Regions from separate parts of the Homo sapiens genome. Here regions 1, 2 and 4 are each linked to region 3. The links are contacts of gene promoters, found by promoter capture Hi-C in blood cells and fetal thymus (Javierre and others, 2016). All regions are on one chromosome and are shown on one strand. The core of a region is centred on a gene start or on the middle of the fragment in contact, and the rest is flanking DNA. Distances in the headings are between cores, read along the strand shown. Region 1 overlaps SLAMF1 (signaling lymphocytic activation molecule family member 1). Region 2 overlaps F11R (F11 receptor). Region 3 holds the start of CD244 (CD244 molecule). Region 4 holds the start of LOC124904439 (endogenous retrovirus group K member 18 Env polyprotein).

Region 1 (3,549 bases), core at 209-2,708, 240 kb before region 3:
CTGGTCTTTACTGTCCTTTGCATACCCACTTTCCCCAAGGGCACAATGGAAACAAAGCCCTGAGTCCCAGCCCCCCTGCACATTTGTCATATTGTCTTAGGTTAGTTACTTGATCACTCTAGGCCTATCTGTGAAATGGGATTTGAAATACCTGCCTCACGGGGCTGTTGTGATAATTAAATGAGATACCACTTGTAAAGTGTTTAGAACACTGCCTGGTGCATAACAAATGCCCAATACGCATTAGGTGTTTTTCTCATTGGTGTACCATTCAATTACTTTAATCTCTGTTGCTCAATGTGCATATCTGGTCTCCTAATAGGATTCTAAGTTCTTTGAGGGCAGGGCTAGTTGTTTATACCTCTTTTGTATTTTCCAGCTGGTAGTATGTTGCTTCACTCACAGCTTTCTCACCTCCCTATTTCTGGGGGAATTGATGTGTGGGAGGTAAGGGCGGGGGGACGTGTAAGAGGGATGTTCCACCTGGGACTATTTAGAAAATAAAGCAACAATGTCATTCTGTTGCCCACCATCTGGAAATTTTGCTCAGGGCCTAGGGTCTCTGGAAATTAATAAGTTGCAGAATATTTTAATTTTTAGCCAATTTTAAAAAGCTTTCTTTTTAAATTATAGGAGTAATTTATTCTCATCATAAAATAAAAATTGTGAAGAAATATATAAAGTATAAAGTAAAAAGTATAAATCCCCTTCTTCCATTAACCAACCCAATTTCATTCCCAAAAGAAACCGTATTTTTCAATACCTGTGAAAAGAAGTGGGAAAAAAAAGAAGAAACCATTTTTAAAAGTTTGATGTATATCCCTGTAGATCAGCTCTGTGCAACAGAACTTTCTGAGATGATGGAAATGTTCCATATCTGCAGTGTCTAATACAGCTTACAGACACGGGGCTATGGAGCACCTGAACTGTGACTAATGTCACTGAATTTTAAATTTTATTTAATTCAAATTAATTTAAATTTAAAAAGCCACATGTGGCTAGTGACTACCATATTAGACAATGCAGTTTTGGATATTTGCTATACTTATATAGACTTTTTTCCACACAAGAGGTGTCATTCTGCACACACTTCTCTGTAACTTGATCTTTTCACTTAAAATGTATTGAGGACATTTTTCATGTTAGCACAGTAGACCTATCTCATTCTTTCTAAAGTTGCACAGTATCCTTTGTATACATCATGCAGCAGTAAGGATGGTGGGAAAGTGGCAGACTGAAGGATGGAGGTTTATTATGGGATTATTGCAAAGTCCAGGCAGAGGCAATGGAGGCTGGACCCAGAAAATCACAGCCTTTAAGGTAGACTTATTTTAACACCAGTTAATTTATTCTCTTAAAAAACTGGGCTGGGTGCAGTGGCTCACGCCTATAATCACAGCACTATGGGAGGCTGAGGTGGGCAGATCACGAGGTCAGGAGTTTGAGACCAGCCTGGCCAACATGGGGAAACCCTGTCTCTACTAAAAATACAAAAATTAGCCAGGCATGGTGGCACGCGCTTATAATTTCAGCTACTCAGGAGGCTGAGACAGAAGAACTGCTTGAGCCCAGGAGACAGAGGTTGCAGTGAGCCGAGATCATGCCATTGCACTCCAGCCTGAGTGACAGAGCAAGAATCTATCTCAAAAAAAAAAAAAAAAAAAAAAAGGCACATCTCTGAGGAAATAGCATTTTTAGGAGAGGCACATTTTTCTTTGGAAGGGAAAGGCCCAGTGTGTATGTGGTGAGCATGGTGGAATGTGCTGCGTGAGGGTGTGAGTCTTGGGGAGGAAATGTGGGGCAGACACTGATGAAGTTCCAGGAATTCAAGGAAAGTCAACATGGGATTTTTTGTGTGTGGGTATGAGCACGGTGTGCCTAGTGGTTTCAACTTCGCTTTTTTGGTCAGAGTTGATCCTGACTGAGGAGTGTGCGTGAGTGCGTGTGTGTGTGTGTGTGTGTGTGTGTGTGTGTAAAATGGAGGGGAGGACTCAAGAAGCAGTTGGAGGTAGCAGAGGAGGTTCAAGTTAGTCCCCACGAGTGTTTGCAAAGTAAGACATGCCTGCCCAGCACTCTCCTAGGTGCTGTAGTGGCTACAAATAGAGTAGAGAACAGACTACAGTCCTCAAAGACTTTCAGTCTTGCAGGTCAGCTCAGAGTCAAATGTAGAACTGGAAGGACAGTCCTAAATGGTCAGACAGATGGAAGAGGTGAGGTTGATTGTTGCTGCTTAAAAGGACCATTGGACCAAGATAATTTAGTCTCAGGTTATTTTCCCCAGTGCAAGAACAGGTTTTTAGGAGTAAGCTTAACTCGGCTCCAAGTCAGCAAGGTCTTAGGCTCTAAGGAAAAAGTCTTGGCCTTAAAATTAGGACATCTACATTGTAGCCATCATTAGCTGTGTGGCATTGGACAAATCACGTCATCTCAATGGGTCTTTTCTCTTACCATAACTGTAAAATGAGGGCATAGAGTATCTAATATCCTTTTCAGCTTTTACCTGAAGCATAAAGTCTTATGTTACCATGACTTAAAATATTTTCAATCTGTTCTAGGTATTGTTTCCAGATGCTTCCAGTGCAGCTTCTCCTGGCCATAGCACTTACACATTGCCATTTTAATTCATCTACACTAAGAGATCTGTCTATCTGTCTATGTATCTATCTGTCTATGTATCTATCTATCTATCACCCATCGATGGGAACCACTGTGTTCAGTGTTTTCTGTGTATTGATACCAATCTCCACCACAATACCATGAAGTACATAGTATTACCCCTGTTTTGCAGACGAGAAGTTAAGTCATTTGATCACACAGCTTGTCAGTAGCAAAATCTGCATCTGAATGTAAGTTTGTCTAATGCCTATACCCACATTCTTTATCAGTGTATTCTCCTGGACATGAAATTGCCAAAGAGTCATGAAATTGAAAAGCCTTCAGCGTCAGGCTGCATTCTGATGATTATAGCATTAGAAGCTGCCAATATAATTTCTTTAGCAAGGTTTTATGAAAGGTGCAGCAACTAAATATAAATTTTACCGCAAGTTTGAGGCAGTTTTGTGTGTTGCTAACTTACAAGGGACAAATGGTGAATGGGGTTGAGGTGAGGATGGGTATGTGTGTTGGGGAAGGTAGTGGGGAATTGTGGGATGGGGAGCACTATTCCCTTAGAGCACAACCATGTGATAAGCCAAGTGTGGTTGAGGAAAGAGTATGGCGTAGGATCCCAGCAATTTTACTAGGTAGGTTAATGTGGATAAGTTAAGTTCAGTTTTCTCATCCTGGGTCATCTCACTATTTCCTTATAGTATGAGCTAAATGTGATTGCCCTACCCCGAGCCCCATAGGCTGTCAACCTAATTTCTATCTGAATCACCCATCCCTCCTACCTGGCTAACTCTTAGATGGAGGAAATGAGACACAAGTAGGTCGCTGTGCTATGATCTAGATTTTTTTATATATGCAAAACCAACATCAGAGTGCTGAGGTAAGGGCTTTTCTAAGAAGGTTGTGTGTAGATGACACTGATCTACTTGAGAATGAAATCAG
Region 2 (3,548 bases), core at 85-2,584, 150 kb after region 3:
CATCCAGGTCTTTCCTGAATCTCTGAAACAGAAACTGGTTTGAGTTTAGAGATCTCCAGGGTCTCTAGTCAAACCTAACAGATGTGATAAACAAGTCTCATTATTATCACATAAAATGTGCATGGCATTTAAATCTATTTTTGGGTGTGGTGGAAACGTGTGTTGCCCATTTATGTGTCCACAGAACAAGTGCAAATTGAACTCAGCTGACTTGGAGGGGGGTGGGATGTATCCTAACAGCCAAGGCCACAATCCCTAGAAACCAATATGGGCCAGGTGTAGTGACTCATACCTGTCATTCAGCATTTTGAAAGGCCAAGGCAAAAGGATCCCTTAAAGCCAAGAATTCAAGACCAGCCTGTACAACAGATGAGACCCTGTCTGTACTAAAAAAATAAAAAATTAGCCAGGTATGGCTCACCACTCACACTTGCCTATAGCCTCAGCTATTCAGGAGGCTAAGACTGGAGGATTGCTTGAACCCAGGAGGTCAAGGCTGCAGTGAGGCCAGGCACGGTGGCTCATGCCTGTAATCCCAGCACTTTGGGAGGCCAAGGCAGGCGGATCACTTGAAGTCAGGAATTCAAGACCAGCTTGGCCAACATGGTGAAACCCTATCTCTACTAAAAATACAAAAATTAGCCGGGCAGCTCACACCTGTAATCCCAGCACTTTGGGAGGCCAATGGGGGCAGATCACAAGGCCAGGAGATCAAGACCATCCTGGCTAACATGGTGAAATCCCATCTCTACTAAAAATACAAAAAAAAAAAAAAATTAGCAGGGAATGGTGGCGGGTGCCTGTAGTCCCAGCTACTTGGGAGGCTGAGGCAGGAGAATGGCGTGAACCCGGGAGGCAGAGCTTGCAGTGAGCCGAGATCACGCCACTGCACTCCAGCCTGGGTAACAGAGCAAGACTCCATCTCAAAAAAAAAAAATTAAATTAAAAAAATATGTACAAAAGGCTGGGCACAGTGGCTCATGCCTGTAATCCCAGCATTTTGGGAGGCCGAGGCAGGCAGATCACGAGGTCAGCAGATCGAGACCATCCTGGCTAACACGGTGAAACCCCGTCTCTACTAAAAAAAATACAAAAAATCAGCCGGAGTGGTGGCGGGCCCCTGTAGTCCCAGCTACTCGGGAGGCTGAGGCAGGAGAATGGCGTGAACCCGCGAGGCGGAGCTTGCAGTGAGCCGAGATTGCTCCAGTGCACTCCAGCCTGGGTGACAGAGCCAGACTCCATCTCAAAAAAAAAAATATATATATATATATATATACACACACACAAAAATTAGCCAAGAATGGTGGTGCACGCTTGTGTCCCAGCTACTCGGGAGGCTGAGGCAGGAGAATCACTTGAACCTGGGAGGCAGAGTCTGCAGTGAGACAAGATCACGCCACTGGACTCCTCCCTGGGCAACACAGCAAGACTTTGTCTCAAAAAAAAAAAAAAAGGCTGCAGTGAGCTATGATCATGCCATTGTACTCCAGCCTGGGCAACAGAGTGAGACCCTGTTTCAAAAACAACAACAACAACAACAAAACTCCATGATATATATATATAAGCAAGATGTAGAATATATGTAGTATGCCTCTTTTTGTGTCAGAAAGGGGAGAAAAAACAAGTATTATTTATATATACTTGTATCTGTAAAATGAAACACTGAAGAGACATTAGAAACTATTGGGGTTTGGGGTGAACAGGAGCAACATGGGAATGAGATACCCCACCCCTTTGATATCATTTTAATTATAAAACCATGTCAATTAACCTATTCTAATTAAATTTTTTTAAAAAAAATCACAGTAGCTCTATCTTGAATCGGAACTGGGCTGGAGACTCCACAAGACATGATCACAAAGGAACTGAAGAGCAACATGGTGAGGTAAAAGTGGTCTGGAGTGGCCAGGTGCAGGGGTTCACGCCTGTAATCCCAGCACTTTGGAAAGCCTAGGCAAGAGGATTACTTGAAGTCAGGAGTTCGAGACCAGCCTGGCCAACATGGTGAAAACCCGTCTCTACTAAAAATACAAAAAATTAGGGGCCGGGCGCGGTGGCTCACGCCTGTAATCCCAGCACTTTTGGAGGCCGTGGCGGGCAGATCATGAGGTCAGGAGATCAAGACCATCCTGGCTAACACAGTGAAACCTCGTCTCAACTAAAAATAGAAAAAATTAGCCAGGCATGGTGGCGGGCGCCTGTAGTCCCAGCTACTCAGGAGGCTGAGGCAGGAGAATGGCATGAACCCGGGAGGTGGAGTTTGCAGTGAGCCGAGATCGTGCCACTGTACTCCAGCCTGGCGACAGAGAGAGACTCTGTCTCAAAAACAAATAAATAAATAAATAATACAAAAAATTAGCCGGGCGTGGTGGCGCGTGCCTGTAGTCCCAGCTGCTGGGGAGGCTAAGGCAGGAGAATCGCTTGAAGCCGGGAGGTGGAGGTTGCAGTGAGCCAAGATCATGCTACTGCATTCCAGCCTGGGTAACAGAATGAGACTCCGTCTCAAAAAAAAAAAAAGTGATCTGGAGCCAGAAGGCAAAGACTAAAGGACACTGAAATTCCACTGCCACTCGTTTCCTAGTTCCAGGTAGAACTAGGAAGTGCCAGTCACCAGTTTCTAGTTTGGAGGGAACAATTCACTCCTGGGAGTAGAGGGAGAGGAAAGGAGGAGTGACTCACCAGTGTGGGGAAAAGCAAGAGAGATCAGATTGTTACTGTGTCTGTGTAGAAAGAAGTAGACATAGGAGACTCCATTTTGTTCTGTACTAAGAAAAATTCTTCTGCCTTGGGATGCTGTTAATCTATGGCCTTACCCCCAACCCCTTGCTCTCTGAAACATGTGCTGTGTCAAACTCAGGGTTAAATGGATTAAGGGTTGTGCAAGATGTGCTTTGTTAAACAAATGCTTGAAGGCAGCATGCTCCTTAAGAGTCATCACCACTCCCTAATCTCAAGTACCCAGGGACAAAAACACTGCGGAAGGCCGCAGGGACCTCTGCCTAGGAAAGCCAGGTATTGTCCAAGGTTTCTCCCCATGTGATAGTCTGAAATATGGCCTCGTGGGAAGGGAAAGACCTGACTGTCCCCCAGCCCAACACCTGTAAAGGGTCTGTGCTGAGGAGGATTAGTATAAGAGGAAGGCATGCCTCTTGCAGTTGAGACAAGAGAAAGGCATCTGTCTCCTGCCCGTCCCTGGGCAATGGAATGTCTCGGTATAAAACCAAGACATTGTACGTTCCATCTACTGAGATAGGGAAAAACCGCCTTAAGGCTGGAGGTGGGACATGCGGGCAGCAATATTGCTTTGTAAAGCATTGAGATGTTTATGTGTATGCATATCTAAAAGCACAGCACTTGATTCTTTACCTTGTCTATGATGCAAAGACCTTTGTTCACGTGTTTGTCTACTGACCCTCTCCCCACAATTGTCTTGTGACCCTGACACATCCCCCTCTCAGAGAAACACCCACGAATGATCAATAAATACTAAGGGAACTCAGAGGCTGGCGGGATCCTCCATGTGCTGAACGCTGGTTCCCCGGGTCTCC
Region 3 (3,245 bases), core at 696-3,195:
CTCACCAGCTTCACCGTGCAAGGGCCGGCATAGCCAAGCCCAGCTATGGTGCTGAAGCCCTGGGAATGGGGGTGGAGGGAGCATTGCCCTCTGTCACACAGGCTCATGACCTCAGGGTCATAACCTCAGCTTCTCTGTTACTCTCATCCCCACAGCCAGGCACCAATCCCATCAGTCCTCCTTCGGCTGTCTGAGCTGCATTCAAGGATCCTTAGACCAGGTTCCAACCTAGCTCTCCTGCCTAGAATCCTGGGCCACTAGGCCCCCCAACCCACCCACAAGAGCTGCAGGCTCCACTCCTCCCTCCCTGCTCCCTGTTCCTCATCATGCTCTGCCCTAGGCTGCCTGCATCCTTACAAATGTTGAGTCCACCTGAGCCTTGACTGTGTCTTCCTGAAGGACACAAGAATGCTCAGGGACTCGGTAACTGAATTGAGTACCTGGGCATGGGACTTTATTGCATATGGGGCTTCTACCTGGCCCTGAACCCACACAACACTATGCCTCAGTTTCCCCTCTTTGTGCCCAGAGTGTACCCTCCTCTAATTCCACGCTCTCCACCTCCGTGAAGCCCCTGCAGAGTCACTGATCTAAAATGCAGAACCCTGGCTGGGCATGGTGGCTCACACCTGTAATCCCAGCACTTTGGATGGGGGAGACCAAGGTGGGCAGATCACCTGAGGTCAGGAGTTCAAGACCAGCCTGGCCAACATGGTGAAACCTGGTCTCTACTAAAAATACAAAAATTAGCCAAGCATGGTGGCGCACGTCTGTAATTTCACCTACTCGGGAGGCTGAGGCATGAGAATCACTTGAACCCGGGAGGCAGAGTTTGTAGTGAGCCAAGATCACGCCACTGCACTCCAGCCTGGGTGACAGAAGGAGACTCTGTCTCAAAAAATAAATAAATAAATAAAAATTAAAAATGAAATAAATAAATTAATTCAATTAAATTAAATGCGGGATCCAGGTTTCAGAGCATCCTGGACCCCAGAACTGGAGAAAGAGGGGAGCAGCCCTCAGCTGGGATCCCCAGGAGTAAATGTTAGATGGCTCCATGCCTGGCTGACAGCTTTAGGTTTGCTGTGGAGCTTCCTCATATTGTCTCCTTCTTCTGCCCCAACCCTGCATGTCCCTAATAATTTCCAGGCTCCTGTGGCATCTGGATGGCTGAAGAAGCCGGGGAGATGAGGGACCATGCCTTCCAGCTTCTTCCTGGCTGCTGGCCTCGCCCTCCCCTCCCTGGGCTCAGCTTTCCTGCCTCAGGGGTCCATCCATCTGTCTCTGAGCTCGAGAACCACCCACTTCCTTGGGACTGCTTCTCTTCTCTCATGCCACAATTGGAGGATGCAATTTTCATCATCTTTACAGGCGGCTGGAAGGAGGCTTCTCTCTCCACTACACGGAAGGGTAAATTGAAGCCAGTGGGAAGGAATCTCCTCACCCAAGACTTCCTGGATTGCTGGTGGCAGGGCCAGATACCCCTCTCACAGACCTCCCAGTGCACTGCCAGCCTGTCCTGTCTGATTTAGACTGTCAGAGCTGTCAGGAGCTGCTCGGAGTCAAGTTCCAGATGACTGTGTATGTGGCACAAGCAGAGGCTCTGGCTCTGATCTCCCTGAGGGGCACAGCTCCTAGTCCCTCCCTCGCCCCACGCCAGGTAGGACCTCCTTACCTTTGCCCTGATACACCTTGAGGAGCAGGAGGAGTATGAGGGTGACCACTTGCCCCAGCATTTCCACAGGACAGAGGGGCCAGGCCAGCCCCTCCACCCCACCAGACTCTCTGCCGTGCACGGGCTCAGCAGTCCCCAGTCAGCAAGAGGACGATGGGGAGCAGAACTGCCTTGCAACCTGTCCAGCCACAGTTTCCTCAATTAGAGGCTGTTAACGCCTGCTGTGAGCTGACAAGGCCACTGAGAAAGCCCCAGCGCCTGGAGCTGGTCTGACAGTTCCCACAAGCCAAACTGGTGAAGCTTACCTCAAGTGGGAGGGTGCTTGAAGTTCACAGTGACTCACAAAGCCAGTTTCAAAATTGCATCCCGTTCTCTGCTTCAGCCCAAGAAGTCTTCCAATTCTCTGAATCCTATATGGAGAGACCCCCATGGGGGCCAAACAGCCAGTATCCCCAACTGTTCCATTCCAACAGACATTGTGGAGGTGGAGTGGAGAGGGGCTGGAGGAGGAGTGGGCTGAAACGTAGGGCCCTGGATAAGCGGCTAACAGTGTTGAAGGAAAGGAGGAGTAGCTGAGAGAACATAGGAAGAGACCTAAGGGCTGGAGGCACTAGAAAAATCTAGCAAGCCTGGGGATTCCATGCAAGTTGACACCAAAGTTTAAGCACATGTAAATTAAATTTGTTTCATAAGAATTTGTTTCACACGGGGCACAGTGGCTCACGCCTGTAATCCCAACACTTTGGGAGACTGAAGCAGGCAGATCACTTGAGATCAGGAGATCGAGACTAGCCTGGCCAATATGGTGAATCCCCACCTCTACTAAAAATAGAGAAATTAGCCAGGCTGGGTGGCGTGCACCTGTAATCCAAGCTACTTGGGAGGCTGAGGCAGGGGAATCACTTGAGCAAAGGAGGTGGAGGTTGCGGTAAGCCAAGATCACGCCACTGCACTCCAGCCTAGGTGACAGAGCGACACTGTGTCTCAAAAAAAAAAAAAAAAATTTTGTTTTGCTCCACATTTCCGATCTGTATGCCTAGATTCCCTCCCTTCCTCTTTTTCTACTTTTCTATAGTAGTCCTCTCTTCCCTCTTTTGTCTTCTCCCAGAAGTGACATGGGCCTATTTTTGCTGCCTTCCCATCCATGCTTGGACGCCACCCTCCAGGAAGGCCAGGCAGCTCTGGATCTGCTTAGGCCCCCATGGAGGGGTGGGGACAGCGGCATCCCCCCTCCCCTGGAACACTGTGCTTCAAGGCCAGGCCCCAGGGTTCATGCCTCTTTCTTTCTTCCTTCTGCTTTCCCCTTAACAAATACTTTCAGTTCCCTTCAAGTCCGCTCTTATTCTCTTTTTCCATCCTTTGGTCCATTTCCAGCCACCCTGTCTGAACTGGGCAGGGGGCAGCAGACTGACAGCTTCAGCTGCCAACAGAGGCAGCAGCGGGGCTCTGGACAGAGCGCTGGATTTAGAGTCAAAGACTTGGACTTGCAGCTCCCATTCAGCAACTTACAACCTATGTGATTCTGGCCTTGTTGCTGTCTGAGCCTGTAGGGTCAACAATACATCCTCCC
Region 4 (3,526 bases), core at 984-3,483, 180 kb before region 3:
GAGGACAGGGAATGTGCGTCTTCCTTTTTCTGGATCTCAGGATGTGATATTGATATGAGGGTGGTGTTGGAACCACCAGCCAAATTGTGTTCTCATGGTCAGATACCACACTGTCACAGTGGGTCTGTGGTGGCAGAAGAGCAAGGCATATCAGGAGAGGCTGGTAGAGACAGGGCCAATTAGTTAGGAAGAATAAGGAAGAGCATACACAGTCTCCGTAGTCCACATGTGGGAGTAGAGATAAAGAAATCAGTGCAGTTAAGGAGGGTAGACAGAGCCCAGGAAGACCACAAAACAGCAACGTTCTCAGAGGCCAGAATCCCTGATGACTGGGCATGACAGGGGTCACAGGTGAATGTGAGCACCTCAGGTCTGAGTTATTCTAGAAGAATGTGTACGCTAGGGCTCAGGGATCTGACTTCAGGATTGTGGAGGGTATCTGACTCTGGTATTTCCCAGAGTGCTGGAGATATTGATCCAAGTTTATTAAGGGTCCCCAAAACTCTAAGAGACTGCGTCTCATTTAGCTCCCGCTTACTAAGGACTTGTCAGCCACTGTGATAGGCAGTTACGTGTCTTGTCTCATTGAATCCTTAGCACGAGATAGGAACTGTTATTTTGTCCTTTATTTAGGAAGAACATGACTTGGGGAAGCTAAGTAACTTGTTTAGCTAGTAAGTGACAGTCCTAGAAGTGACCCCAGGTATGACTGACTCTAAAACCCATGGCCTTAGCTGTCCCATGCTAGCACCAGTGTAGGCCTGATCTAGAGCCAGGTGTGACACTCATGAGTGGATCCTCCCAGGAGACAGGGGAATCTGGCTTCCTAAGTTCATCTAGGAACATCAGGCTGGGGAGGAGAAGCTTCGCCTGAGGCTCAGGCTCTCACGCCTCCTCGACGGCCTCTCTCAGGCCCGTCTCCTCAGTCCCTCTTTCCCTGGCTGACTTTGGCGGTCTAATGACCTCGGTCCCTCTTTCCTTGGCTGACTTCGGCTGTCTAATGAAGCCCCTCTAGACAGCTGCTCGCCCACTTGCCCTTCCTTCTCCCTGCTCACCCTGATGTTTCAGTCTACTCTATGATGACCCTGGCCTCAGATGTTAGGACTATGCTTTGTTAGAGCGGGAGAGGGAAGAGGAGTATCAGAGATCTCTCCCAAACGTCCTTTGCAGGTGAGAACACTGAGCCCCCACGAAGTTGAGGTAAGCTGGCTGGGAGGTGGTGGTAGAGCTGGTGGCAGAACCCACGTCTCCCAGCTCTCCCAGACACCTTAGGGATTCACCACCACACTGTGCAAGGAGGCTGAATAGGACCCCCAGCCTTTCTTTGTTCAAAACAACTCCAGTTACCCTGTGCCCCCCTCAGCTCCCAGGGATCCTTCTTACCCAGGGTACAGGGTGGACTGAGGCAGACCGTGCCATTCTTGCTGCTCACAGAATTGCTGACTTGGCAAGTATAACACCTGGAGTAATTATGTGGCATAAGGGTGGTTTCAAGCACACTGTTCTGGAGCTCCTTTGGGAAGGGCCTTTTGTCCCCATACCAGGTGTAGTTTACAGACTCGCCAGGTATCACACATGACAGTTTCAGATAACAGTTGTCATCCATGTCTTCTATCTTCTCAATTTTGATGACAGGCTTGGGTACAGGGTCTGAAAGTGAGGAGGATGTTATAAGATGAGACAGTGAGGCATTCATGCTGTGAAGGTTTAGCCAACAAAGAACAAAGGGATCCAGGGAAGGGGCCTGAATGCCCCAGGAGGCAGAGTCATGAAGAAGAAGTTCTACAGAGGGAGCCAGTGAGCAGCCTTGACCTCCTGAGGCCTCACAGACTCACTGCAAGAGCGGCTTCTAGGCAGTGAAGCTAAGCTGCGTCCTGGAGGGGGCGCCACAGTCCATCATATGCTCTGGGAACAAAATGGGGTTATGATCGTGTGTGAGCCTGAACGAACAGCCCAGAGACTTGCTGGGGTCAGACTTAGTATATCAACTGCCTGAGATGCTCAGGGACCCTTCTCTAGCAACGGTTCATGGCGGGCACCTTGGCTGGTCTGTCTTTCCAATTATCGGATTCAGCTTCAGCAAGAGTCCTAAGGTAAGAGGTACCTGTCTGCGCGTGGCAAAGTCCTTTGCACAACCATCCAGTGCAGGTGCCAGCCTTCTAGACTCTGGCAGAGCTACAGAGAAGAACTTCATGTAACTTCCAGCCGCATCAATTGTGATAAACAGATTGGTCTGCTAACTTTGGTATCTCCATGTCTAGCACAATCCCTGCCACATGGCAGGTATTCTATAAGTATCTCATGAAAGGATGAATGAAGTAGTTATGAGATAGAAAGGATAAAACACAGCCGGGTGCAGCGGCTCACACCTGTAATCTCAGCAATTTGGGAGGCTGAGGCAGGAGGATTGCTTGCAGCCAGGAGTTAAGAGACCAGCCTGGGCAACATTGAGAGACTCAGTTTCTAAAAAAAAAAAAGAAAGAAAAGAAAAGAAAAGTAGCCAGGTGTGGTGGTGTGCACTTTTAGTCCCTGCTACTCAGGAGGCTGAGGTAGGAGGATTGCTGGAGCCCAGGAGTTCCAGGGTGCAATAAACTATGATTATACCACTGCACTCCAGCTTGGGTAAGGAGAAGACCTTCAAAAAAAAAAAAAAAAGAAGAAAGAAAGGAAGAAAGAGAGAGAGAAGGGAAGAGAAGAGAGGAAAAAGAAAAAGAAGGGAGGGAGGGAGGGAGGGAGGCAAGTAGACACAAAAACACTAGTTTTGGAGTGAGACCAGCCTGGGTCCTGGACTTGACTCTAGTGGAGTGACATTAGGCAAGGTAGTTAACCCCCTTGCTGTCATCTGTAAACTGACTCTACCTCATCGCGCAATGTTAGTAAGATAAAACGTCACCTGTCATGGATAATTGCTTTTTGAAGAGTGTAAGTATTGCATACATTCTAGAGGCCATTTTACCATTATTACTGTTGTACTGCTGCCGGAGAGAATGAGAGATAGTCCCAGCATCTGGTCCTTCCTTGGCTAAGGCCGGTTTACCTGCAATCCTCTGAGATCTTTTCATTCTGGTCAGGGTGAAACATCTGCAGAATCAATGCAACTCAAATCCCATAAGATTAAAAATTGGCAGAGAATTGACCAGATCAGAGCTTGCCTCTTGGTTGTATGTGTGGAGAGGCTCTAGAAGCTCTACCAATCTGGTCTCTAGAACTCTAGTTTTGTCTCCTCTGTGAAGCTGATCTCAGATCGCTAAAAGATTGCTCAGACTACAGAGGTGATAAAAGTTTCCTGGACTTCCCCTATATGTTTTAATTGAGCAATTTTTATCCTGGTTTTCACCATTTCCTGTGTTCTAGCCTCATATCTTACACTCCTTCTGCATTTCCCATGGTGATCAGCACAGCACTGGGCACTTTGCTGATGGAATTAATTGAGCCAGCTTGGGTTGTCCAGCTCCAAGATGCTCGCTTTGAGCTGTCAGAAATGCTTGGGCTGGACCAGAGGACCATTTTTTCTGCTAATCACTTC

What was found. Contacts are between HindIII fragments. The CHiCAGO score rates a contact against its expected background, and 5 or more counts as called.
Region 1: a fragment that was not itself captured here is called in contact with the fragment with the promoter of CD244 in region 3 in 2 of 17 cell types (total CD8 T cells and M2 macrophages); the score reaches 5.4 in total CD8 T cells.
Region 2: a fragment that was not itself captured here is called in contact with the fragment with the promoter of CD244 in region 3 in 1 of 17 cell types (megakaryocytes); the score reaches 5.2 in megakaryocytes.
Region 4: a contact is called between a fragment that was not itself captured here and the fragment with the promoter of CD244 in region 3, in 2 of 17 cell types (megakaryocytes and total CD8 T cells). The highest score is 7.9, in megakaryocytes.

The regions. Positions count from the first base shown.
Region 1 is chr1:160,619,914-160,623,462 of GRCh38, forward strand. All of the region lies in intron 4 of SLAMF1 (signaling lymphocytic activation molecule family member 1), which reads right to left. Among named protein-coding and RNA genes, the nearest start is that of SLAMF1, 25 kb to the right of the region's middle. The HindIII fragment of the contact is 1,693 bases long and covers 613-2,305 here.
Region 2 is chr1:161,014,153-161,017,700 of GRCh38, forward strand. The region is part of intron 1 of F11R (F11 receptor); the gene reads right to left. Among named protein-coding and RNA genes, the nearest start is that of F11R, 5.2 kb to the right of the region's middle. RefSeq lists enhancers at 1-111, 1,753-2,350. The HindIII fragment of the contact is 7,117 bases long and covers 1-3,548 here.
Region 3 is chr1:160,860,942-160,864,186 of GRCh38, forward strand. It overlaps CD244 (CD244 molecule), which reads right to left and starts at 1,946. Exons shown (of 9, transcript NM_016382.4): 1 at 1,676-1,946. The coding sequence starts at 1,736. RefSeq lists an enhancer at 1,762-1,811. The HindIII fragment of the contact is 2,100 bases long and covers 1-1,973 here.
Region 4 is chr1:160,679,819-160,683,344 of GRCh38, forward strand. CD48 (CD48 molecule) reads right to left here. Exons shown (of 4, transcript NM_001778.4): 3 at 1,384-1,650. LOC124904439 (endogenous retrovirus group K member 18 Env polyprotein) reads left to right here and starts at 3,388. Exons shown (of 1, transcript XM_047438433.1): 1 at 3,388-3,526. RefSeq lists an enhancer at 1,616-1,705. The HindIII fragment of the contact is 2,742 bases long and covers 863-3,526 here.